Regions from separate parts of the Homo sapiens genome. Here regions 1, 2, 4, 5 and 6 are each linked to region 3. The links are contacts of gene promoters, found by promoter capture Hi-C in blood cells and fetal thymus (Javierre and others, 2016). All regions are on one chromosome and are shown on one strand. The core of a region is centred on a gene start or on the middle of the fragment in contact, and the rest is flanking DNA. Distances in the headings are between cores, read along the strand shown. Region 1 overlaps AP1G1 (adaptor related protein complex 1 subunit gamma 1). Region 2 overlaps PKD1L3 (polycystin 1 like 3, transient receptor potential channel interacting). Region 3 holds the start of ATXN1L (ataxin 1 like). Region 4 overlaps AP1G1 (adaptor related protein complex 1 subunit gamma 1). Region 5 overlaps PKD1L3 (polycystin 1 like 3, transient receptor potential channel interacting). Region 6 overlaps AP1G1 (adaptor related protein complex 1 subunit gamma 1).

Region 1 (4,011 bases), core at 1,507-4,006, 110 kb after region 3:
AAGTCATTAAAGTTCTGAACCCTCAGAAGGTGAGTAGCACATTTGTAGCCAATATCTGAGCCGAAGTGTAAGCATATTTCCCGAAATAAAATTCTGCTTTGTTTCTTTAGGTTTTTCTGACTCATAGTTAGAGAAGAGATCAATGAAAATGCCTGGTCTAACTTCCTTGCTCTTTTGTAAATAACAAATGGAACCCAGAGACATCAGGTGGCTTAGTGGCATCTTATTAAAATGCAACTTCAAAAAAAGCTAGATTAAAGGTCTGGTTTTTGGGGGTAGGGGAGAAGCTTAGACATTTTAATTTATACACAAGTTGAAATCTGAGGTAAGAGCATTTGTTGAAACCAAATACCTACATTTACTGCTACAGTTATTAAGTATGAATAGAAAAATAGAGGCATTTTAAATGAAGCAGCCAAATGAAAAATAGCTTTAGAAACTGAAATTAAGCAATATTTTTATTATCTCTTCTCAAAGAAATAAGCTCACCTTAATAGTAATCAGTTGGTTTTCAGTTTTTGAAAATGGTTCAGAGAATTTCTTTAATAGAGCTCTACTAGTTGCTCATAAGTAACAGTATACTTTCTTTCTCTTGTAACACTTGCCTTTCCTCTGCTATTCACTATATTTTGAGCATCGGCCTCTATAGTACAAGCACAAACTCCTTTGACCATCTGATACAGAGAGTAAAAAATGTCTTAGTGCATTTGTATTTGAAATCTGCCATACAAAAAGTGTCTAATTGAGTTCTCTTAAAACTACTGCTGTTACCTGTGAGTTAAGTCATTTTTTAAAATTTTATGCTTTAGGAACAAAAGGTCATGTTCACATTTACTGTAGGTTTTTCAGATAAAGCAACAGTGTATCTGAATGGAGAGCGTACGATGAGTATATGTTCACCTCATTTTTTAAGAGACTTGGATACAAGGTTTGAATCTTTTTGAAAAGGACTCAGCAAAATGTTACTAGGAGAATGCTCCATGGTGGCTCACGCCTGTAATGCCAGCATTTTAGGAGGCTGAGGTGGGTGTATTATCTGAGGTCAGGAGTTGAAGACCAGCCTGGCCAACATGGTGAAACCCCGTCTCTACTAAAAATAAAAATATTAGTCTGGTGTGGCGGTGAGCCAAGATTGTGCCACTGCACTCCAGCCTGGGCAATAAGAACAAAACCCTGTTTCAAAAGAAAAGAAAAGAAAAAATGCTCCCAAGGAGTTCTGTCCTTTTAATGCAGTTCAAGGATTAAAGCTAACCGTGTATTCTGCAGATGCGCTTTCTCAACTTGGTGGCATGACATTGTTAGCTTCTTGGCTCAAGCCTAGAGTACTGGGTGTTTTTTGTTGTTGTTTACCTGTCATTCTTAACAGACAGCTTTGCTTTAAGTTTTGACCTCTAAGATTAAAAGTCTATTTGTGGACCGGACAGATTCTGGAGATTTCATTTCAGTATATAATTTGCACTTCTCTTTTCCTCTTATAGCAACAGCTGCGAATGCGGATCAAGCTTACATATAATCACAAGGGCTCAGCAATGCAAGATCTAGCAGAGGTGAACAACTTTCCCCCTCAGTCCTGGCAATGAGGGTTTGGCACCATTCTCATTCTTTATCCCACTCAATCAAAGGAACTCTGGGAAGGAGGTTGTGATTGCTGGCAAGTCCCCCCCAACTGTACCACGGGCATGAGGAGCTGAAGAGAACTGCTGAGGAGGATTTTCCTAAAGTTACTGCTGACCTTGAAGCATTGTTAAAGACTAATGTCCTCTCCTCCACTGTTGAGGCTGGCTGCTTCTGGAGGCTACTTTGCACTCTTCCTCTTCTCCTTTTTCCGCACTTCTCCACCCCTCCCACATTTACAGCCAGAATCAACATTCCCTGGGCCCCTGAGGAAATAAGCAGCTGGTCTGGAGGAGAGGACTGCAATCCATGGCGAAAAAACACTCACTTTGTCTCTGCAGCAAAGAGTTGCCCCTTCTTTCTACTGTTGTTTCTCTGTGGACTGGGCAAGGTGGGGTATTTATTCCTCACTAGCTGGGTTACCATCTTCAGGCACTTTTAACATCTGGCATTCGGAATGGAAATGTAATAATGGACATTAGGGAGCCCTGCCTTTTTCTACTGGTTCCCCCAATGTTTGAAAGAGGCATTAGGCTCCTGGTAGCCTTTTCTGTGCATTGCTGTATACACACAGACACACACATGTATGTTTGTTACCAAGAACTGGTCAGACCTTGCGAGTTTATTTGTAAACACTGGACAGATGGAGTTAAAAAGAGCTTTTGTTGAGATTTGGCATGAAGGATATGGTGCTCTATTTGTAATAGAAACTTCCAAGGCTCTTCCAGCTCCCCTTTCTCGCCATTCTTTAGCTGTAGTCATGAATAGTCTCCATGATTTTCAAAATTGATTCCCTTTAAAGTGCAAAATGGTCACCTTCTAAAAGATATATTCATAGTTATTAATGACCCTATTCCCACCACAAATTTTAAAGTGCTCCTAAGCCCATAACTTGCCTGTTTGAACTATGGTAATGGGTGGAAGAGGAGTTCACCAGTTTCAAAGATCAGACTCTGTATCAAAAGTACCTTTGCCCTTAGGAAGAGTGAGTATTGGAGTCATCTTATCTATTACTCCAAACCTCCCTTTTTATTTCTTGAGCCTGGCTTGGACCTTGGCATTCCGTTTGAATTCCTTCTAACTGGAACATTTGTGTTGTATCTGTAACACTGGCACTGAAATAAAGACCACACGGTTAAAGAAATCTTTCCATATTGTACTTTATGGTGTTGGAGTGAAGCCTTGTAGCTTCCATACCCCTATGTCAGAGGAGGTCTTACGGACACCATAGGGTAGGAATAGCCTTTCCTCAGTCTGAGAAATTGGTCTCTTTTAAAAGACGAATCTCATGAATATTCACATCAAAGACTTGAGCTTTTTAAACTAGTGAGAGTGCCAAGTGCTTTTTAGAAAGGACCCATATGTTATCAAACTTTGAAATTGAGTTGCTGGAATGAAGTAGAGGTGACTCTCTCTGTGGTACACATTGAATGTACTATGTATGTTCAAGTATTCAGGCGCCATGTCTTATATACTGAAGAAAGAAAAAGTGAGGCCCACCTTGCTCTTACAATGTTTGCAATTGTTACTGTATTGAATACAGTATAATGACTACTATGGCTTCAATCTTAAACCTGGAAACAAATATCCCTTTTTTTCCCCTTCATTTCACCAAGCCTTTACTTAAAATCTTCAGTGTCTTGTCAAATCTAGCTCTGTATCAGATGCTGGAATATTCCTAACATTTGACAAACTGGAGTTGAACTAAAGGCTCCACGGGAAAGTTTCTGGTCTTACTAGTGTGTATGAGCAAGATCTGCTAAAACTTACTCCACTGGGTAAATGGTTGACTGAGTCAAGAACAGGATAATATCTCCTGCATAGTTTTCAGTAATGTAAGTGTGGACTAGTGCATATTTCAGACAACTGCTCTGCCTGTGCAATGAAAAATAGCCTTTAAGGGTTTCTTTGCAGACTGATTTCATTGGATGGATACTTAATGCTGTGAAACATGATAGGATTAACATAATGTTGGTGGATTTCTTGAATAGAATTTGTCTTAACATTCCTCTTTGTGTAGAGGCTTTATTTTCTCTCTTATATTTGTAGCTAACCAGCTCAGGTTTTTTTATTTGAACTGGGTTGAATCTCTGAAGAAATCTGTTCAAGACCATGCTATAAGACACTGTCAGCTAATGGAGCTGGGAAGGGTCTACTCTGCTGACAGAGCATTTCCTTGGGTGATCATAGTTTCGAGGTAGAGTTTATGATCATTCATAGCTTTGTCTAGAAGGAGTAAAATATCATGGCCTTAACACAAAGGGTGCTGCGTAGAATATGAATTGATTTTGGAATCAGAACACAAGCACCATACTGAAGGACTAGCAGCCAAATAACTGCCTAGGATACTGATGGTTGTGAAGACTGTTTCAAATGATTGGATCTTTGAAAGCTTCA
Region 2 (3,777 bases), core at 140-2,639, 100 kb before region 3:
GCATCTGTAGTCCCAGCTACTCAGGAAGCTGAGCCAGGAGAATCACTTGAACCCAGGAGGCGGAGGTTGCAGTGAGCCAAGATTGCGCCCCTGCACTCCAGCCTGGCAACAGAGACAGAGCAAGACTCCGTCTCAAAAAAAAAAAAAAAAAAAAAAAAAAAAAATGACATGCTCCCTTTCCCCACGCAGTGGAAGAGAGCAGTGGGAAGAATCTCATGGGAGGCTGTCAGGGTCCTGTTACCTGTAATATATTTTTCCCAATTCCTGTGCCCTGAGCCGTGATCAACCACATGCTTAGCTTTTACTCTTGATGATTAAGTATTCTGAGAACTAAATGGGAGTGCATGGTACCACTCTGGCCTTGCTTTAGTCTTTGATGTTTGATCAAATTGTCTCTTTTTTCATTCTGTATTGTCTCATAAAACTGGTATTGCAGCTACCATGAGCTGTGAGGTGACTGCTTTCTGAAAAATTAGAGGAACATGAAAAATTGAGGTTCTTTGTGCTAAGCATATCCCCTTCTGACGAAAGGGAACGGCCTTACCACCTGTAATTGGTACAAATCCTGGGTTAATGAAAAACAGGCTGATTTTTCTCATCTGGTCCTACATTCAGGAATTAAAGGAAACTGTGAGATTCCTGCTCAGGAGAAATACATACCTACTCTCCAAGTGTGAGCAGCCGCCATGGAGTTCTTGGGACATTACTAAGCTGGTGAAACTTTTATCCAGCCTCGTATCATCTCACTTGGAGGGTCAAGGCTGTCATCAGCAGGGAGAGCGCCACTGGGCACGTGGTAAACTTCAGTAGATTTCAGTAACGAATCTTCCATCTGCCTCCCACTCCCTTGCATATGTCTTACTTTCTTACTCATTCATAACCGACAGGCCTGATACAACCTTCTGGTTGTTTTAATTTCCTTAAGCTTCTAGTATAGAGTTGATAGCTTTGTTCTCCTTGATGACTTGTAGACAATCTTTCTCTATCTGGTGAAACAAAGTACAGGATTAAGAAAAAAACACAAGCCAGATGTGGGTCACGCCTGTAATCCCGGCACTTTGAGAGGCCGAGGTGGGCAGATTACCTGAGGTCAGGAGATCAGGGCCAGCCTAGCCAACATGGCGAAACCCTGTCTCTACTAAAAATACAAAAATTAGCCAGGTGTAGTGGCGGGCGCCTGTAATCCCAGCTACGGGGGAGGCTGAGGCAGGAGAATTGCTTGAACTCAGGAGGCAGAGGTTGCAGTGAGCTGAGATCGCGCCACTACACTCCAGCTTGGGCAACATAGGCTCTGTCTTGAAAAAAGAAAAAAACACAGGTCGGGCAGGGTGGCTCACGCCTGTAATCCCAGCATTTTGGGAGGCCAAGGCATGCAGATCACCTGAGGTCAGAAGTTCAAAACCAGCCTGGCCAATGTGACAAAACCCTGTCTCTACTAAAAATACAAAAAAAAAAAAAAATTAGCTGGTCATGGTGGCAGATGCCTGTAATCTTAGCTACTAGAGAGGCTGAGGCAGGAGGATCACTTGAACCCGGGAGGCAGAGGTTTCAGTGAGCCAAGATCGTGCCACTACACTCAGCCTGGACGACAGACCAAGACTCCATCTCAAAAAAAAAAAAAAGAGAGAAATACAAAAAAAAGTTTTCTGTATTATACCCACATATCCTTTCTGCTTTGTCAAAGGCTGTTGAAACTTGTCATCCTTTTTCTTTTATGAGATGATGAGATTATGGAATTTATGGATTCTCAAATACTGTTTGAGTCTCCTGGGCACTTACTAGTATAGGTCACATGTACTGCCATTCTGGTGAAGAACTCAATAAGGTTTTAAAAGTCTTTAGATCAAAGCTTAGAATTTTACAATTGTTAAAAATTCACCAGCATCCTTAGAGAAGATGGTAGTACTGCAAATGTGGGGTACGGTCCAATCTCTGCTAGTAGTGGGAAAATATAGCCTCATCATCCATCAATGAATTGTTAATCTCTACCACTAATTGCTTCTTATTGAAATCCACTTGTGAAAGTGTCAACTTGAAATATATTTTCAGTTGTTCCTGAAAACCACCATCATTTCTGCTGTTACCTGCATAGAGTTCTGCAGAGGCTGAAATCTCACTTAGGCACGCTGGGTCTCACCCAGGGTCACCAGTCCTGTGACTTCCTAGATGCAGCCAGCCAACTTCAAAAACTCCAGGAACTCTTGGAAACACATATTCTTCCCACGGAGCAAGAGCCATCCAGGTAATGCACCACACCAAGCCTTCTTTATCCCCTGTAATCTTCCTCATCCTCTATCTCAGCCGATGCATACAAGATTATTCCCTCAACTTTTGTGCTTCAGGGAAGTCACCAGTTTTGCCATCCTGAGCTCAGAAGAAGGAAAAAAGCCCATCTCAAATGGCCTGTCCAAATGGTTGACTTCAGTCTGCTGGCTCCTCTTAGGTTTCACTAGCCTGGCTTCAGCCTTTTTTACAGCACTTTATAGCTTGGAATTGAGCAAAGACCAAGCCACCAGCTGGATGATTTCAATTATTTTATCAGTGCTTCAGAACATCTTCATCAGCCAGCCAGTAAAGGTATGTGAGGGATGGGAAGAACCATTGGAGTTGCAGAAGTTAGGGGAACTGAGGTCCCTGGGTGTCAATCCAAGGTGCCTAGTGGTTTTGACAATGTAACATAAACAACAAAAAACAAATAGGCAAACCAGGCTGGGTGTAGTGGCTCACACATGTAATCCCAGCAATTTGGGAGGCCAAGGCAGGCAGATTGCTTGAGTCCAGGTGTTCGAGACCAGCCTGGGCAACATGATGAAACTCCATGTCTACAAAAATTAGAAAAAATTAGCCAGGCATGGTGGTGTGCTCCTATAGTTCCAGCTACTTAGGAGTCTAAGGTGGGAGGATTGCTTGGCCCAGGAGGTCGAGGCTGCAGTAAGCCGTGATTGCGCCACTGTACTCCAGCCTAGGTGACAGAGTGAGACCCTGTCTCAAAACTAAAAAAAAAAAAAAAAAAGCAAACTGACATTTAACTGACATTTGTTAGGGATAAGTGTAATTCATGACAGAAAAAACTAAGAAGTATGGCAGAAAAGGATTGAGGAGTGAAGAGGACAGTAACAAATCAACAACCCAAAGCACTTTGAAAAAAATAAACAACAAAAAACTTAAAATGTTTTTAATTAAGAAAAATGTCAAACCCACACAAAAGTGTAGAGACTAGTACAATGCATTCTAAAGTCGTACCACCCAGCTTCAACAATAACCAACTCATGGCCAATTTGTTTCATCTATTATTTGGGGGGAACAATATCAGACTTCATATCATTTTATCCATTTCATGTACTTCAGACTTTATATTTCTAAAAGATACAGACTGTTCTGTATCTTTTAGATATGGAAAATAAATATAAATACAAAGGGACAGCCTGAGGGAATTTTGGGGGTGATGAAACTACTTGGTATCTTGACTGTAGTGGTGGATATACAACTCTAAGTATTAAACAACACTCATGGAATTACACACCAAAAAGTGACTTTTTTTTTTTTTTTTTTTTTTACTATATGTAAGTTAAGATATAAATTTTTTAAAGCAAAACCTGTAATTGCAGTGGCCAAAACACATGTAAGAAATTCAGTTTCACTAGTCCAATAAAATGATAATATTGCATTTTTGTTTTAATAATGGCAAAGAAAAATAATAATACACAGTAATGCCAAGGAAATGAACAGCCAGTGCTCGTTAAGGAAAATCTGGCAATATGTAGTGACAACCTGCAA
Region 3 (4,090 bases), core at 637-3,136:
TGCCCAGGCAGTTGAACAGAGAGAAAAACACCTCTAATGCTCCAACTTGTAAGAAGACATCCCTGAAAAAAAATTTCCATGTATCAAATTTCATTGGTTTTCCGTAACATCATTTCCCTAACATCTACCTGTGCCTGTTCCCCAAAGGTTAAATTTGCTCCAATCCAAATTTCAGATAAACGCACAAATAAAAATGGAAGCTTTAACACTGTTCCCATATGAACAATGGGAAGCAGGAAAAATCAACTCTATGGATTTCCCCTTTATTCTGGGCCTATGAAAACATAAATGTGGAGTTATTTAAATGAAAAAAAGCAGCAGTAGATGAAAAAGAACAATTATTTATGTTTCTGGGGCAGAAAAAGAGGTCAGGGGGGAGTCACTCAAGGAGAAGACTTATTAAGAGATTTTCAGGGTTAAAAAAAAATGAGCATATGTGTGTGTGTATGTAAAATTTTCTGAGTGACAGTATACCAAGTGCTGAATCAGGTATGAAAGAAACTGAAAATATTGCCTTGGTCCTCAGCTGGCTAACACTGGTGAAACAAAACTACCACTAAACCATCACTATGTGAATCTACACTTGCCAGAAACGCAAAGCGAGAAAGAATGGAGCCTTAACCTCTGAAAACAGAGAAGGCAGTACAGATGAGTGAGTGCTCTGAGAAACTGACTATCCTGTCCAAGTCCTATAGAACACTCTAAGCCTCAACCCAAACCGAATGCAACATTTCTCTCTTAAGATTGGCAAGGTGCAGGTGTACACAAAAGGTGGAAGGATAGGAAAACACAGTGGGAAAACAAATTCCTAATTCCACAAACACATATTATTACACAGTGGCATAAATAATGACTCTTTTCTCCACCAGCAGCTTTAATAACTGAAAAGCAGCTTGCTTTCTTCTTCATTCCCAACAGAAACTGGGGTCACACTTCAATCCCAAAATGATCCTTGCTTTCTGTAACGAAAACTTTAAAGAAAACCTGCCTCCAGGTCACCGAGAAGTTAGCAAACACAGGCTAGTAAAGGGACCGAAAGAGGCAAAAGGTCTGCAGAAAGGAAAACAAAGAGCCAAGCCTGTGCGCCAGGTTCCCACAACGCAAAACACACTTAAGAATCCGAAACCTCCGCCTCTCGAGAACCTCACTGAGCATCTCAAAGGGAAAACGCAGCTTGTGACCCCAACCGAGCTAACAGGCTGTTCAGGAGAGTTGCCAACGCTGCTAGCAGAGCCCGGAACCAAGCTCCTCATCACGCTTGGGTCGGAATCAAGGGGCTGAACCCAGCTGGAGACCCAAATTCTCTGCGGGCGAGAGGTGCGCCCGACAGAAAGGGAGAAGCTTGTCAGAGACTACGGTTATGGCTCCCAGTGGTCCCGCAATCCTTGATCCAACAAGGGTAGGGCTCGAAATTGGGAATTCTGCGTTTAGAGAGTAGGGGGTCCACCCTTCACCAAGGGGGCAGGGGCGAGGCCCTGCAGGCGACGCTTCCTTGTTTGGGGGCCCTTCCCGCCCCACAGACTCGGACACCTTGGCTCGCAGGCACACAGCCTCCGGGGCGCCGGGGCCTGAGGCCACCTTCCAGGACAGGCCAGAGAGAAGCGCGAGGGGGTCTAGGTGCGGCCTCTCCCCTCCGTCTGTCCACGGTTCATGGGCCCCGGCCCGCCGGAGCAACGGGCTCCTGAGGGCCACTTCCTCCGGAGCACCGACCCCAGGCCTGCCTGGCCCCGGCGGCCACCACTTCCAGGGACACTCACCAGCCCATTTCACAGCGCTTCCCAGGATCCACTCACTCGTCCCGGAGCCGCCGCAACCGCGGCCGCCGCCATCCCCGGCCCCGGAGCCGCCCCACACCCAGCGCCCCCCACAGCCGGGCGCCCGGAGATGGCGTCAAGCTCGTCCCGCCCCCGGCGCGGAGAGATTGCGTCACGGCCGGGGTGGGAGAGCAACGCCCAGGACTCCCCGGGAAGGGAGGGTGCCACACTGCCTTCGCGTCGGGCGTTCCCTCTGGTGGGTGAACAAACTCCTCTCCCTGGGACCGGGTCACGTGAATAGGGCTGGGCCCGGCCCCCTCAGCCTGACCCCACAATGACCCCGCAATCTTTCCACCTCAGTAAATTTTGGGGGTTCCCAAACAGAGCCCCGGGGCGTGGTCATCGGCGACCCCCCATTTCCTGGACTTCTTGTCCTGACTTGTGCAGCCCCTTCTGGGGAACTTCGGGGGACCCCGAGGTGACCTAGGCTCAGGAGAAAAGGAGATACCTCTTACCTCTTGGGGACCCAGGTGGAGATAGGAAGTCTTCTTTTTTTCTTTTCTTTCTTTTTTTTGGAGACAGTTTCGCTCTTGTTGCCCAGGCTAGAGTGCAATGGCACGATCTCGGCTCACCCAACCTCCGCCTGCCAGGTTCAAGCAATTCTCCTATCTCAGCCTCCCGAGTAGCTGGGATTACAGGCATGCGCCACCACACCTGGCTAATTTTTTGTATTTTTAGTAGAGACAGGGTTTCTCCTTGCTGGTCAGGCTGGTCTCGAACTCCCGACCTCAGGTGATCCCCACACCTCGGCCTGCCAAAGTGCTGGGATTACAGGCGTGAGCCACCGTGCCAGGTCAATAGGAGCTCTGTAAGTGTTGAGAAGTGGCCCCCGAGGGAGCTAAGAGTGAACCCCACTCAGGATCTAGGGGAAGGTGACAAGGAGTGGAACACCTGAAAGTTTAGAGAGAGCCCGGGGTTTAGTACAGTGAGAAGCAGCTTGGTTTAGTGGAAAGAGGGCTTGACTACTCAGTGAAATATTATTCATTACAAATTAACTAATTATTCATTACAAATTAACTGGTCAACTTCATAGTAACATGAACATCTGATTAACTTAAGTGAAGACAAAAGTGAGCGCCAGTTGAATTTATGTTTGAATAACAACTGTGTTTTTGTTGTTGTTTGTTTTAAAGTATTAGGTTGGTGCAAAAGTAATTGCGGTTTTGGCCACCGAAATGGAGACTTTCAGTTTCTTCAAACTCTGTTCAATAAATAACAATTGGGCCAGGCGCGGTGGCTCACGCCTGCAATCCCAGCACTTTGGGAGGCCAAGGCCGGCGGATCACGAGGTCAGGAGATCGCAGACCATCCTGGCTAACACGGCGAAACCCCGTCTCTACTAAAAATACAGAAAATTAGCCGGGCATGGTGGCGGGCACCTGTACTCCCAGCTACTCGGGAGGCTGAAGCAGGAGAATGGCATGAACCCGGGAGGCAGAGCTTGCAGTGAGCCGAGATCGTGCCACTGCACTCCAGCCTGGGCAATAGAGTGAGACTCCGTCTTAAAAAAAAAAAAAGAAAAAAAAAGATATGTCATTGCAGTTGCGTGTATGTGTGTGTGTGTGTGTACATATAATTTTTTTTTTTTTTTAGCCCTGTCGCCCAGGTTAGAGTGCAGTGGTGCCATCTTAGCTCACTGCAGCCTCAAATTCCTGTGCTCAAGCAGTCCTCCCACCTCAGCCTCTGGGGTAGGTGCGATGATAGGCATGCACTACCATGCCCAGCTAATTTTTTAAAATTTCTTGCAGAGACAAGGTCTTGCTATGTTGCCCAGGCTGGTCTTAGACTCCTGTGCTCAAGTGATCTTCCCTCCTCGGCCTCCCAAAGTGCTGACATTTCAGTCATGAGCCAACCACACCCAGCGTCGGTTGTATGTATTTCTGTGTATCTGTACAGAAAAGGAGTAGAACACATAACTAATTAACATTGGTTATTTTTGGGAAGGAAAGTGGAATTGGGTGGTGGTCAAAAGGCAAAGAAACAACTTATATTATTGTTTGAATATTTAGGAGAATATTATCTTAGAAATAAAAAAAGTAAGTTGAGATCCAGATACAATGCATGATCTCTAAGATTCTTTCTAGGGAAGCCTTAGATCTCAATTATATTTTCTCACCTGGATGGACACATAGGGCCATAAAAAATTATCAAGTACCACACAGACACACACACAGACACACACACACACGCACACATACACACAGCACAAATGGGAAAAAACATAGTGAAGTTACTGCTGTCATCTAAATCATCTGAGTGTTTTGCTTCATTAATAT
Region 4 (3,976 bases), core at 987-3,486, 79 kb after region 3:
GGACTGCAGGTGCCTGGCACCACGCCTGGCTAATTTTTTGTATTTTTAGTAGAGTCAGGGTTTCACTGTGTTAGCCAGGATGGTCTTGATCTCCTGACCTCGTGATCCACCCGCCTCAGCCTCCCAAAGTGCTGTGATTACAGGCGTGAGCCACCGCGCCCAGCTCTTTTCTATTTTTTTAAGGTTAAAACTAAAAATTTTTTTATTACTTTTACTCTACTGTTCGTTTTAGGACATTGACTCCTGTGATGGAAGTCTTAGTTCTCTTAAGTACTCCCTTCTCTCTTTTTTTTTTTTTGTGGCGGAGTCTGGCTCTGTCGCCCAGGCTGAGGTGCAGTGGTGCAATCTTGGCTCACTGCAACCTCCACCTCCTGGGTTCAAGTGATTCTCCTCCCTCAGCCTCCTGAGTAGCTGGGACTACAGGCGCCTGCCACCATGCCCGGCTAATTTTGTTTTGTATTTTTAGTAGAGATGGGGTTTCACCATGTTAGCCAGGCTGGTTCGAACTCTTGACCTCAGGTGATCCACCCGCCTCAGCCTCCTCAAGTGCTGGGATTACAGGCGTGAGCTACCGCGCCCGGCCTTTTTTTTTTTTTTTTTTTTTTTAAACTAGTATTTTAAACTGGACATTTCTGTTTCTCCACTTAATTTTAGACTCAGAAGAAGACTGTTCTTTGGGTAGTTACATGCATTGAACTTCTTTTATAGGATGCTGGTCATTCCATAAATAGAACTCACTTTGTACTTTAGATCTAGTAAGGCTCTAACAGGAGTTCTTTTTTGGCTTTTTTTCCCTTAGATGTTCATGTCTTGATTAAATTATTGTAATATAGTATGAGACCCGTATCTGTCCCTAATGCTTGCTTTGTATGTTTTGTTCCTGTTGTCTGTTTGGAATCCTGCTGTATGTTAGAATGAAAAGGTAAGAATTAACCCTCTTTTAGATGGTGCATGCTGGCATTAGGTCCTTAGTAGCTTTTGTGTATCGATCCACAAATGTGGCTTTTAAAATATACTAATGCTGAAGCTGTGCTTAATACTGTGAGTTATTGTTCTACCATCTTTGGCTAACTTCCTAGTCTAGTTTTTGTTTTGTCACTTAAACTCCTGACTCCAAAGTCAGCCTTGGATTTCAGTTGCAGCCTTTCCTGAGTTGTAAGCCTTCTTCTCTGCCTTTTCTTTATCTTTACTTGAGAAACTTTGAGCAGTTTCCCAGTGGCTTTGGTGATGGCAATTCCAGATTAGTCTGGAGCTTTGACACAAAATGCTGCTGCTTTTTGAAGTAGATATTTTAGAACCGCATGTGGGTAACCTCATACTTTAAAAAGCTCCGTATGTACTGCTGAGCTTTCAGTTCACACTTAGAGATTTTATTTCTCTCTTACCTGTACTTAATCTTACATAGAAGTTTTGGAATATTAAAAGGATTTTGAGGTAGAGTAGTGGGCACCAACTGATTTTCATGGCTGCAGCCTTTCCCTGTGTCATCTTATTTTGTTTGTCTTGTCATCAGTTTTAATAACTTGCATTTTTGTCTGAAAAATGAAACTGGGTTCCAAGAATTGTATGCTGAACATTTAGTCATTTGTGCTCTGTGTCCCAGGGTAATGTTATGTGATGTGCTGGCCTTTTTGGCAGTGGATAAAACAATTTCTGAATTTAGTAGCCCAAGGAAAAATGACTTTTCCAAGAAATAAACCAGATAAAAAATAACTAGGGTTATATCTAGTACAAAAAAAACAGACCATTGGGAAGTATGTAAGATAAGGTTGGTAACTACTTGGTCTTCATTTTATTACAAAAATATTGATTTAAAGTGGTTTTAAAAGGTATATTATTATCTCTAATATAACTTTGCCCATAGTTGACAGATTTAATGAATTTACAGATCTCCATGGCTTAGATTTGTCTTATTTGGAGTTGTCCAAAGTAGACTTTTGTTTAGGTGACTTATAAGTTACTTAATTCCAAACTGTTATGGCTCAACTTATTTAAATTCTTACATACTGTGTTTTCTTGTGTTTATAAGTGGCCTTAATGTTTTGAATGCTTTGAGTGCATGCCTTGGATATAGCTTGGCTTTTCATTTCAATCTTGATCCCCTTTTAGGCTTGGGGAGTAGGGAAGGGACAGAGTCTAAATATAGTGAGAAAAAATAACTGAGTTGCAGCAGAGTTGTAGCTAAAATTGCCTGCAAAAGAGATGGAATGCAATTCACTTTGCACACTATTTAACTTAATTTTTGGTCATTAGAGTTGTTTATATAGCTAAAAATTGAGTTTTTAGTTGGAAACATAAAAAGTTCCTATTGTGGCAAACCTTTTGTTTTAATATCAAGTAATTGATCAACAGAAATGAAATGAGTGCCAATATTTAAAACATCTTCGGCTTGGCAGTAAAATTGCCTTTACTATGTGTTAGGACTCTTAATGGATAAAGTAAAGGAAGGATAGGAAGGAAATTCCTGATTATAAGGAATGTATAGTCTCATTGAAAAGACAAGAAAACAGGCCATAAAGCCATATATATAAATAAGTCCTGAAATTTAAAAAAATTGTATCATAGGAGTTAAGAATAGGAAGAGGAAATTATTCATGGCCTTGATGTCTCTTAAGATGAAAGATGTAATTTTTTCATGTGTCTTCCATTTGATTACCGTATTACTATTGTCAGCTTTGGTATTCCCTGTTGTTTGTTGGAAAAGGGTATAACTCTTCTATCTTAAGAGAAGAGATTTTTTTCTCTATTTGAGGTTGTATGTTTTAAAGCTATAATTTTAATAAGATCACTAGTTGTATTTTGGCATGATGACATGTTACATGCAAATGTTTGAATGGGTGAAAACTGAACATGTTTTTGCCACCTAGGCTTTTCAAGTTCTACAGAACTAGAAATGCGGTATGCCCCATAGGCATCTGTTTTACCTGGTTCCCATAGGCTTTCTGACCCAATATTATTTGTAATATCTTTACATATAACTCTTGCATAAAAAAGTCTGGTTTGGTTTTATCCAGATAAAATACATACTACTTCTTGAATATTGCCCTAAGTTACTCCTAAGTTTATCAAACATCTACAATACACTAGTATATTAAATCAGTAGAATTTGCTTGGACTGGGACCCTTACACCCTTTTTCTAAACCAAAGGACCTGCTTATTCATGAGACATTCTTCAATATTCACTGTTTTTTGATGCATCTTTCTTCTCTGCAGCTTGTGCCCCAATTAGTTCGTATTTTAAAGAACCTCATCATGTCCGGATATTCACCAGAACATGATGTTTCTGGTATCAGTGACCCCTTTTTGCAGGTGAGGTTGAAAGAACGTTTTAAATAAATGTTATATGAATTTAATATCTTTAAGTAGACAATTTCCTTCCTCTTAAGTTTGTGTTGAGTAGAAATTTGGTAGTTAATTGATTAATTATATTAATGAATAGTGACACAATTCTATATTAGATTAAGAGGATACAATTACAGGTCTTGCTCTGTCACTTAGGCTGGAGTGCAGTGGCACAATCTTGCCTCACTGCAGCCTCGACCTCCCAGGGTCAAGTGATCTTCCCAAGTAGCTGGGATTTCAGGTGCATGCCACCATGCCCGGCTCATTTTGTATATTTTGTAGAGACAGGGTTTTGCCATGTTGCCTAGGCTGGTCTCAAACTCCTGGACTCAAGTAGCCCGCCCCCCTCAGCCTCTCAAAGTACTGGGATTACAGGCAAGAGCCACTGTGCCCCACTTCAAATTACAGTTTTAATAGTCAAAATCATTTATTATTTGAATTATTTAATATAGCTCTGCAGGTGGTAGTATCTGGTAGTATCCTTTAGCTGTGGAGTACTGAAGTGTGGGTTGTTTTATAATAACTTTATTAGATGTAGAAGCATATATAGCTTCTCTAAATAAAGAAAATGTTTTCAATTCTTCTGTTTGATTTTTGACTATTTCTGATATGAATAAATGGTTCCAAATGAAT
Region 5 (3,961 bases), core at 1,322-3,821, 88 kb before region 3:
CAGGAGTTCAAGACCAGCCTGGCCAACATGGCGAAACCCTGTCTCTACTAAAAATACAAAAATCAGCTGGGCATGGTGGCGGGCTCCTATAGTCCCAGCTACTCGGGAGACTGGGGCAGAATTGCTTGAACCTGGGAGGCAGAGGTTGCAGTGAGCCAAGATGGCACCACTACACTCCAGCCTGGGTGACAAGAGTGAAACTCTGTCTCAAAAAAAAAAAAAGAAAAGAAAAAAAAATACAGATGATTACACTCAGAAGAAAATATATTTATATCTTAAGCCAAACATAGTATTTTTTTTTTCATTCTCAGGCTTGATAACTAATTTAGAAATTTTTGCTGGGCATGGTGGCTCACGCCTGTAATCCCAGCACCTTGGGAGGCTGAGGTAGGCAGATCACTTGAAGCCAGGAGTTCAAGACTAGCCTGGGCAAAATGTCAAAACCCTGTCTCTACAAAAAATACAAAACTTAGCCGGGCATGGTGGCATGTGCTCGTGGTCCCTGCTACTTGGGAGGCTGAGGTAGGAGGACTGCTTGAGCCTGAGCCTGGGAGGTTGAGGCTGCAGTGAGCTATGATCGCACCACTGCACTCCAGCCTGGGCAACAGAGCGCGACCCTGTCTCAAAGAAAGAAACTTTTGTATTATTGATTTTTAAGTGACAGTTTATGATCTCCAAGAAAAAGAATAAATGTATCCAATGGAAGTTGTTTGAAGATAACTTTTTTGTAAGCAGCATTTCTGAAGACTACAGACCTGAACTAAGACCATAACCCATTTGTCCAAGTGAGATCTGATAAATGCCTGGCAGTGTGCTTTGCCCACAGACATCAGCTGCGTTCATCACACTTGAGCAGGGAGAGACCTAGCTAATCTCTCAGACAAGCAACAGTGACTGTGCTGTCTATGTTTAGGGTTGTCAGCTGAAACAGCAGAAGTGGAGGTTCTTCACTGGGAAAAGAAACATTCTGGACACAAGTATAATCCTCATTAGCTTCATCCTCCTGGGGCTTGACATGAAGAGTATTTCTCTACATAAGAAAAACATGGCACGATACCGCGATGACCAGGACAGGTGAGAGGAAGCCTGAGGGGCACAGCATATTCCTACCTCATGTCTAAAGTTTCCTGTTTATACACAAGTATTCTTCAAACTCCCCTACCAGATCTGTATTTGCATAACATTAGAGTTAAAAGAGAACTTGGACTCATGTCCACAGCAGAGAAGACAGTGAACTAGAAGCCATTTAACTGCTAGTCACATTGAAGAGCTCTTCTGCCTTCATTAGTGCTTAGGTATGTGCTTAAGGATAATGCATTTAAATTTCAGAAGGGCCTGGAATTGGTCATTATTTTGCCCTCTGGCGAAGGCATAAAGCCTAACGCACGACAAATAATCCTTTAAATAAAACCACAACACATAGTCCCATCCTTTAAATGCAAAGGGAGCTGCTTTCTGGGTAGGGATGTTCATCTATTCACTCATCCATACTAAGAGATTTTTGGTGCCTCTTTGGGCACCTTCTCTGGTTTTTCCCATGGAGAGGAACATCTATGTTTCCCATGCCAAGTGTTGCCAAGTGGTGCTTTGCTAACCTTTGCATCAGTGGCCAACAGCCTGGGTGGTGATCTGTGTAACTTTTCCTGAGGCATTGTTTCAAGTAGGCCTTATGGAGAGCAGTTTATGCAGTGACAGCGGATCTGTGCAGAGTGCCACTTGCTAGTGTCTGTGGGGCTCCTTCCAAGTAACCTGGTTGCTGCAACCTAAAATTATGAATGTCTCTCTCTCAAAACAAAACCTAATTGCTAAGCAACACCCCTCGCCTCTAGTCTACCACCCATCATTTTGTTCTAAGCTTGATTGCACCTATTACAGCAATCCTGTACTGCCAGAGAACACAGGATTAGTGTGCCACAGAAAACAGACCAGCAGCATGGCTCCTCTCTCTGGGCTGAGTTAATCTCCTTTTGAGAGGAGAGATTTGGCTCAGAGCAGTGCAGGAGGCTGGTTTTGCTTCCCAGGATGAATTTGGAATAAAGAAATCAGCTAGAGGTCACATTTTAAGGCTTCTTCGGCACAGCTCCCAGTGCAATCTGCAGCAGGTAGATCACTTGAATAGTATGTGGCCTTCTGTTACTCCCATATCCACAACTCACAGGAGGCCACAATAGAAAGCAGTTCTCACATCAACAAGCATTTGACCTCACAGGACTCAGGGCTGCCACGATCAGCAGCAGGGGCGCTGGGGAAACTGCAGTATAGGCACATACTTCTTGCTGAGTAACTGTCAGCTTTCCTTGGTGCAGATTCATCAGCTTCTATGAGGCAGTAAAAGTGAACTCTGCTGCGACTCACCTTGTGGGCTTCCCGGTTCTCCTGGCAACTGTTCAGTTATGGAACCTGCTGCGTCATAGCCCCAGGCTGCGGGTCATCAGCAGGACACTGAGCCGAGCCTGGGACGAGGTGGTGGGCTTTCTGCTGATCATCCTAATCCTGCTGACAGGCTATGCCATTGCCGTAAGCCCCCACGTTGCTGTCTCTCCTTCTCCGTGTGCTGTGGTCTTGGAATCGCATCGCTTCCCATAGAAATGGTCACAACACAGAAACCCGAGGTGGTACAGTAGGAAAGCCGGGTTTAGATCTAGTTCCACACTTAACTGGTATGACTTAAACCCACATATTTTTCTCTAAAATGGGGATAAAACTTAGCTCACACGGTAATATAAAGGTCAAATAAACTTCTATGAAAACACTATGTTATTACAAAGGAAGTTTATGTATTCTTTGGGCATAATTTGGCCACAAGGAATTTCTGTTCCATTGCTTCTATGTTGGCCACATCCCCAAGCACCTCAGGATAGAAAGATGTGCGCTCGGCTTGCACTAACTGGCCTTTCTCCTTCTGTTCAGTTTAACCTGCTGTTTGGATGCAGCATCTCTGACTACCGGACATTTTTCAGCTCAGCAGTGACTGTTGTTGGTCTCCTGATGGGAATTTCTCACCAAGAGGAGGTAAAAATAATAATTTGTTTCCTCACAGAATTCAATATATTGAACAAGGAAAATTGGGGGGGTCCTTATGAAAACAGCCCCCTACTGTACACTGCACACTGGAAAAGGGGGAAAATTTCAGTCCTTTGCTCTACTGCTTTATGGTACTGCCTATGCATACAGCATTTACATGGCTGTTGCTTTCAGAAACCTGCCCTTTCCTAAGCACTCAGTCCCTCCTTCCTCACTTCTTGTGTCCTTAATCTTATTGGCAAAGGACACTGAGCCGAAGCTTGTGCTCTTGTGCTTGGCCAGATTAACAAGATTCTCTGCTTCTCAATGGCCCCTTGAAAGTGCATTAACAGGGTAGGGTAAGTTGGTTCAAGCCATGAGAGGCCAAGAAGGGGAGGACTGCTTGAGGCCAAGAATTTGAGACCAGCCTGGGCAACATAGAGACTTTGTCTCTACTAAAAATAAAAAATAAAAATTAGCCAGGTGTGGTGGCATGCACCTGTAGTCCTAGCCACTCAGGAGGCTGGAGGCTGAGGAGAGAGAATCCTGTGAGCCCAGGAGTTGGAAGCTGCAATAAGCCATGATCATGCCACTACACTCCAGACCCTATGTCTATTTAAATTAAAAAAAAAAAAAAAAAAAAAAAAAGGCCAGGTGCGGTGGCTCATGCCTATAATCCTAATACTTTGGGAAGCCGAAGCCAGCGGATCACTTTTGAGGTCAGGAGTTCAAGACCAGCCTGGCCAACATGGTGAAACCCCATCTCTAATAAAAACACAAAAATTAGCCTAGCCAGGCGTGGTGGTGCACACCTGTAATCCCAGCTCCTCAGGAGGTTGATGCAGGAGAATTGCCTTAACCTGGCAGGCGGAGGTTGCAGTGAGCTGAGATTGTGCCACTGCACTCCAGCCTGGGCAAGACAGTGAAACTGTCTCAAAAAAAAAAGTGACATAATGGA
Region 6 (3,927 bases), core at 981-3,480, 96 kb after region 3:
GTTGACTTATGAAATTATGACTTATATGTATATGTATTTGTTGCTGTGGAATTCTCTCTGGGGCATACTCGTTTTTTAGTTTACTTACAATGAATTAACTTGGTAAAAGGTTAAAAGTTAATAAATTTGATTAGCAAGGGGAAAAATTATAATCTAACAAAATGTAATTAACATAATGATGAACAGGACATGTTTTCCTAGTTTTCATGAGGCTCAAAAGAAGGGAGAAATTAACACTCCTGAAGGAAAGTGTTTATGAGAATTCAAAAGCTTTTTTTTTGTGCCCCTGATTTTATTTTTCTAACTGACTTGTGTTCTCTTATGATCATGTGATTTGTTTTCTTTAGCCTGTTACATGCTGGGTTACATTGATATTTGAATGCCTAACCAGCCTTACATACCTGGAATACGTGGTCAGGGTATATTATTCTTTTTATAACTTTGTTGGGTTTGATTTGCTAATATCTTGTTGAGTATTTTTATATGTGTATTCATGAGAGAGATTGGCTTATAGTTTTCTCTTATAATGTTGTTTTTGACCCATGTGTTATTTAGAAGTATGTTCTTTTAATCTCCAAATATTTTGGGATTTTTTTGCACCTGTCTTTGTGTTGCAGATTTCTAGTTTAATTCTGTGTGGTCTAAGAGCATACTGTCTATGATTTATGTTATTTGAAATTTGTTAAGATATTTTTTATGACCCAGAATATGGTCTTTCTTGGTTCAGTGTAAGTTTAAGAAAAATGTGTATTCTGCTGCTGTTGAATGAAGTAGTCTTATTATACAAACCCATTAGATCACCCTGATGCTTTCTTGTATTTAATGCACTCTGCTTTACGGAAGGATGTAAATAAACTATACTGCAAATTACCTGCTTTTTAGCTTCTCACCTTTCCTTCTGATCATTTTCCCAGAATTCTTCCTCTGTCTTTGTGTTTCTTAACAGGAGTGACCTGATAAAACCCTGATCACCTGGCTGTTTTTTTTTTTTTTTCTTTTTTTTCCTTTCCAAAATACACATGGTTAGGACTGGTCTCAGTCTTACAAATTAAATCTATTGTTCTATTTAGGAATGGGAGATTGACCAAGGTTGGGTGATAAAGTTTTAAACCTTTACATTATTATTATTATTATTATTATTGTTGGTAGTGATGGAGTCTTGCTGTGTGGCCCAGGCTTGTGTCAAACTCCTGGCCTCAAGCAGTCATCTTGCTTCAGCCATCCAAAGTGCTGCGATTACAGGTGTGAGCCACTGTGTCCAGCCTTCCTTTTTTAATTTGGACAAAGAGAAATTTTTTTTTTTTTTTTTTTGAGACGGAGTCTCAGTCTGTTGCTCAGGCTGGAGTGCAGTGGCGCAAACTCGGCTCACTGCAAGCTCGGCCTCCTGGGTTCACGCCATTCTGCTGTCTCAGCCTCCTGAGTAGCTGGGACTACAAGCACCCACCACATGCCCGGCTAATTTTTTGTATTTTTAGTAGAGACGGGGTTTCATCGTGTTAGCCAGGATGGTCTCGATCTCCTGACCTTGTGATCCACCCGCCTTGGCCTCCCAAAGTGCTGGGATTACAGGCGTGAGCCACCACACCCGGCCTTTGGACAAAGAGAAAATTTTTAAAAATAAAATAAAATTTAAAAATGTAACATATTTAAATAAGACTTTGAAGTTTGAGCTGTTATGAACCTGAGAATTGGAACCAAATTTATCTTTGAGGGTGTTTTCTGGTATTCTTCTTTTAAAAACAATAGTAATGGCTGGGCGCAGTGGCACACGCCTGTAATCCCAGCACTTTGAGAGGCCGAGGCAGGTGGATCATCTGAGGTCAGGAGTTCGAGACCACCCTGACCAACATGGTGAAACCCCATCTCTACTAAAAATAGAAAAAATTAGCCAGGTGTGGTGGCATGTACCTGTAGTCCCAGCTACTTGGGAGGCTGAGGCATGAGAATCGCTTGAACCTGGGAGGTGGAGGTTGCAGTGAGCCAAGATCGCGCTATCGCACTCCAGCCTGGGTGACAGAGCGAGACTCTGTCTCAAAAAAAGAAAGGAAAAAACACACAGTAATAATAATAGCTAACACTTGTTATCATCATTTCTGTGTGTTTCTAGGGGTAATTGTCTGCATTTCCTTTTAGGCAGGAAGTTATGTTCGTGATGATGCAGTCCCCAATTTAATCCAGTTAATAACTAATAGTGTGGAGATGCATGCCTATACTGTCCAGCGCCTGTACAAAGCAATTCTTGGTGATTATTCTCAAGTAAGTACTTCATTCAACTATTTTAGGGGGTAATTTTACCCTCAATTTTTCTGGTATGTTTTTCTTCTTTTTTTTCCCCCCTCCTCTCTCCCCTTTGGTATGTCTTTATTTCTAACACTCTAGATATGCACAGTTTTGATCTTTATTATGAGATGACCTATGATTTGCATTAAATAACTTTGGAAAAATTGAAGTTCTTGAGAAACGTTGACTTTTCTTTTCACAGCAACCTTTGGTACAAGTGGCTGCATGGTGTATAGGTGAATATGGTGATCTTCTTGTATCTGGCCAGTGTGAAGAGGAAGAGCCTATTCAGGTACTCCTTGTCACTCTTGGTTAAGTGGGGGAAAATAGTGGTTTTGGTTATAGGAGAGTAGTGTTTAATGGGGAGTTGAGGTTGATTCCTTGAAAACTTTTTAGGCCAGGCGTGGTGGCTCATGCCTATAATCCCAGCGCTTTGGGAGGCTGAGATGGGAGCATCGCTTGAGCCCAGGAGTTTGAGACCAGCCTGGGCAACATGGTGAAACTCTGTCTCTACAAAAGACACAAATATTAGACAGGTATGATGGTGTCTAGTCCCAGCTACTCAGGAGTGAGACCCTGTCTCAAAAAAATTTAAAAAATACCCAACTTTTTAAAGAAGCAAACGCGAATTATATTGGAAAACCTGCCATTTTTTGAGATGGAACTTATTGAGCCATTGTGAGGTTTTTTGTTTTTTTTTTTTTAATAGAGTCTCACTCTGTCACCCAAGCTGGAGTGCCATGGTGGGATCACAATTCACTGCAGCCTTGATCTCCTGGGTTTCAAGCGATCTTCCCACCTCAGCCTCCTGAGTAGCTGGGACTATAGGCAGGCACCACCCTGGCTAGTTTATTCTACTTTTTTTTTGTAGAGACAGGGTTTCACCGTGTTGCCCAGGCTGGTCTTGAACTTCTGGACTCAAGCAATCTGCCTGCCTTGGCCTCTCAAAGTGTTGGGATTAACAGGCATTGCTGAGTGTGGTGGCTCATGCCTGTAATCCCAGCACTTTGGGAGGCCAAGGCGGGTGGATCATGAGGTCACCTGCAGGGTGGTTAGCCAGACCATCCTGGCTAACACAGTGAAACCCTATCTCTACTAAAAAGTAGAAAAAATTGGCCGGGCGTGGTGGCAGGCACCTGTAGTCCCAGCTACTCGGGAGGCTGAGGCAGGAGAATGGCGTGAACCCGGGAGGTGGAGCTTGCAGTGAGCCAAGATTGCGCCACTGCATTCCAGCCTGGGTGACAGAGCCAGACTCCGTCTCAAAACAAAAAAAACAAAAAAAAAACAAAACAGGTGTGAGCCACTTTGCCTGGCCCCATTGTGAGATTTTAAAACCACTTTAGGCCCAAGTCTCTGTCCTAGTGGACTGAATTACTGTTTCTCTTACCCTCTGGCTGGTAAACAAGAAGAAATGAGACATGTATCCATGTTCTTATTTGCACATTAAAGGACTGGCTTTAAAAGGGAAAATTGTGGCAACAACACTTGAACTCTGTATGTTTTTCTTTTCTTCTTCTGTTTCTGCCACTTGAAGCTCTAATATTGCCTCTCAGCCCCAGTGGTCATTTTTCACTCTTTTTACCCCCACCTGCTCTGGTTGATAGAACCAGAGCACTTTTTTTTACCCCCAACTACTCTGGTTGATAG

What was found. Contacts are between HindIII fragments. The CHiCAGO score rates a contact against its expected background, and 5 or more counts as called.
Region 1: a contact is called between a fragment that was not itself captured here and the fragment with the promoter of ATXN1L in region 3, in 1 of 17 cell types (activated CD4 T cells). The highest score is 6.9, in activated CD4 T cells.
Region 2: a contact is called between a fragment that was not itself captured here and the fragment with the promoter of ATXN1L in region 3, in 1 of 17 cell types (total CD4 T cells). The highest score is 5.2, in total CD4 T cells.
Region 4: a contact is called between a fragment that was not itself captured here and the fragment with the promoter of ATXN1L in region 3, in 1 of 17 cell types (total CD4 T cells). The highest score is 5.8, in total CD4 T cells.
Region 5: a fragment that was not itself captured here is called in contact with the fragment with the promoter of ATXN1L in region 3 in 3 of 17 cell types (activated CD4 T cells, naive CD4 T cells and total CD4 T cells); the score reaches 6.8 in activated CD4 T cells.
Region 6: a contact is called between a fragment that was not itself captured here and the fragment with the promoter of ATXN1L in region 3, in 3 of 17 cell types (naive CD4 T cells, total CD4 T cells and activated CD4 T cells). The highest score is 6.1, in naive CD4 T cells.

Annotation. Positions count from the first base shown.
Region 1 is chr16:71,730,627-71,734,637 of GRCh38, reverse strand. It overlaps AP1G1 (adaptor related protein complex 1 subunit gamma 1), which reads left to right. Exons shown (of 23, transcript NM_001128.6): 22 at 1-29; 23 at 1,479-4,011. The coding sequence ends at 1,580. Among named protein-coding and RNA genes, the nearest start is that of PHLPP2, 7.9 kb to the right of the region's middle. The HindIII fragment of the contact is 2,504 bases long and covers 1,505-4,008 here.
Region 2 is chr16:71,948,583-71,952,359 of GRCh38, reverse strand. PKD1L3 (polycystin 1 like 3, transient receptor potential channel interacting) reads left to right here. Exons shown (of 30, transcript NM_181536.2): 19 at 616-796; 20 at 2,050-2,242; 21 at 2,343-2,577. Among named protein-coding and RNA genes, the nearest start is that of PKD1L3, 50 kb to the left of the region's middle. The HindIII fragment of the contact is 924 bases long and covers 928-1,851 here.
Region 3 is chr16:71,843,772-71,847,861 of GRCh38, reverse strand. ATXN1L (ataxin 1 like) reads right to left here and starts at 1,886. Exons shown (of 3, transcript NM_001137675.4): 1 at 1,758-1,886. RefSeq lists enhancers at 1,399-1,468, 1,270-2,041, 2,259-2,308, 2,042-2,814 and a silencer at 1,689-1,998. The HindIII fragment of the contact is 5,556 bases long and covers 1,344-4,090 here.
Region 4 is chr16:71,764,823-71,768,798 of GRCh38, reverse strand. It overlaps AP1G1 (adaptor related protein complex 1 subunit gamma 1), which reads left to right. Exons shown (of 23, transcript NM_001128.6): 7 at 3,215-3,310. Among named protein-coding and RNA genes, the nearest start is that of SNORD71, 8.3 kb to the right of the region's middle. The HindIII fragment of the contact is 7,773 bases long and covers 1-3,976 here.
Region 5 is chr16:71,932,471-71,936,431 of GRCh38, reverse strand. PKD1L3 (polycystin 1 like 3, transient receptor potential channel interacting) reads left to right here. Exons shown (of 30, transcript NM_181536.2): 26 at 914-1,074; 27 at 2,307-2,517; 28 at 2,911-3,012. Among named protein-coding and RNA genes, the nearest start is that of IST1, 39 kb to the right of the region's middle. The HindIII fragment of the contact is 1,428 bases long and covers 1,858-3,285 here.
Region 6 is chr16:71,748,539-71,752,465 of GRCh38, reverse strand. It overlaps AP1G1 (adaptor related protein complex 1 subunit gamma 1), which reads left to right. Exons shown (of 23, transcript NM_001128.6): 14 at 2,134-2,256; 15 at 2,483-2,572. Among named protein-coding and RNA genes, the nearest start is that of SNORD71, 8.0 kb to the left of the region's middle. The HindIII fragment of the contact is 3,916 bases long and covers 273-3,927 here.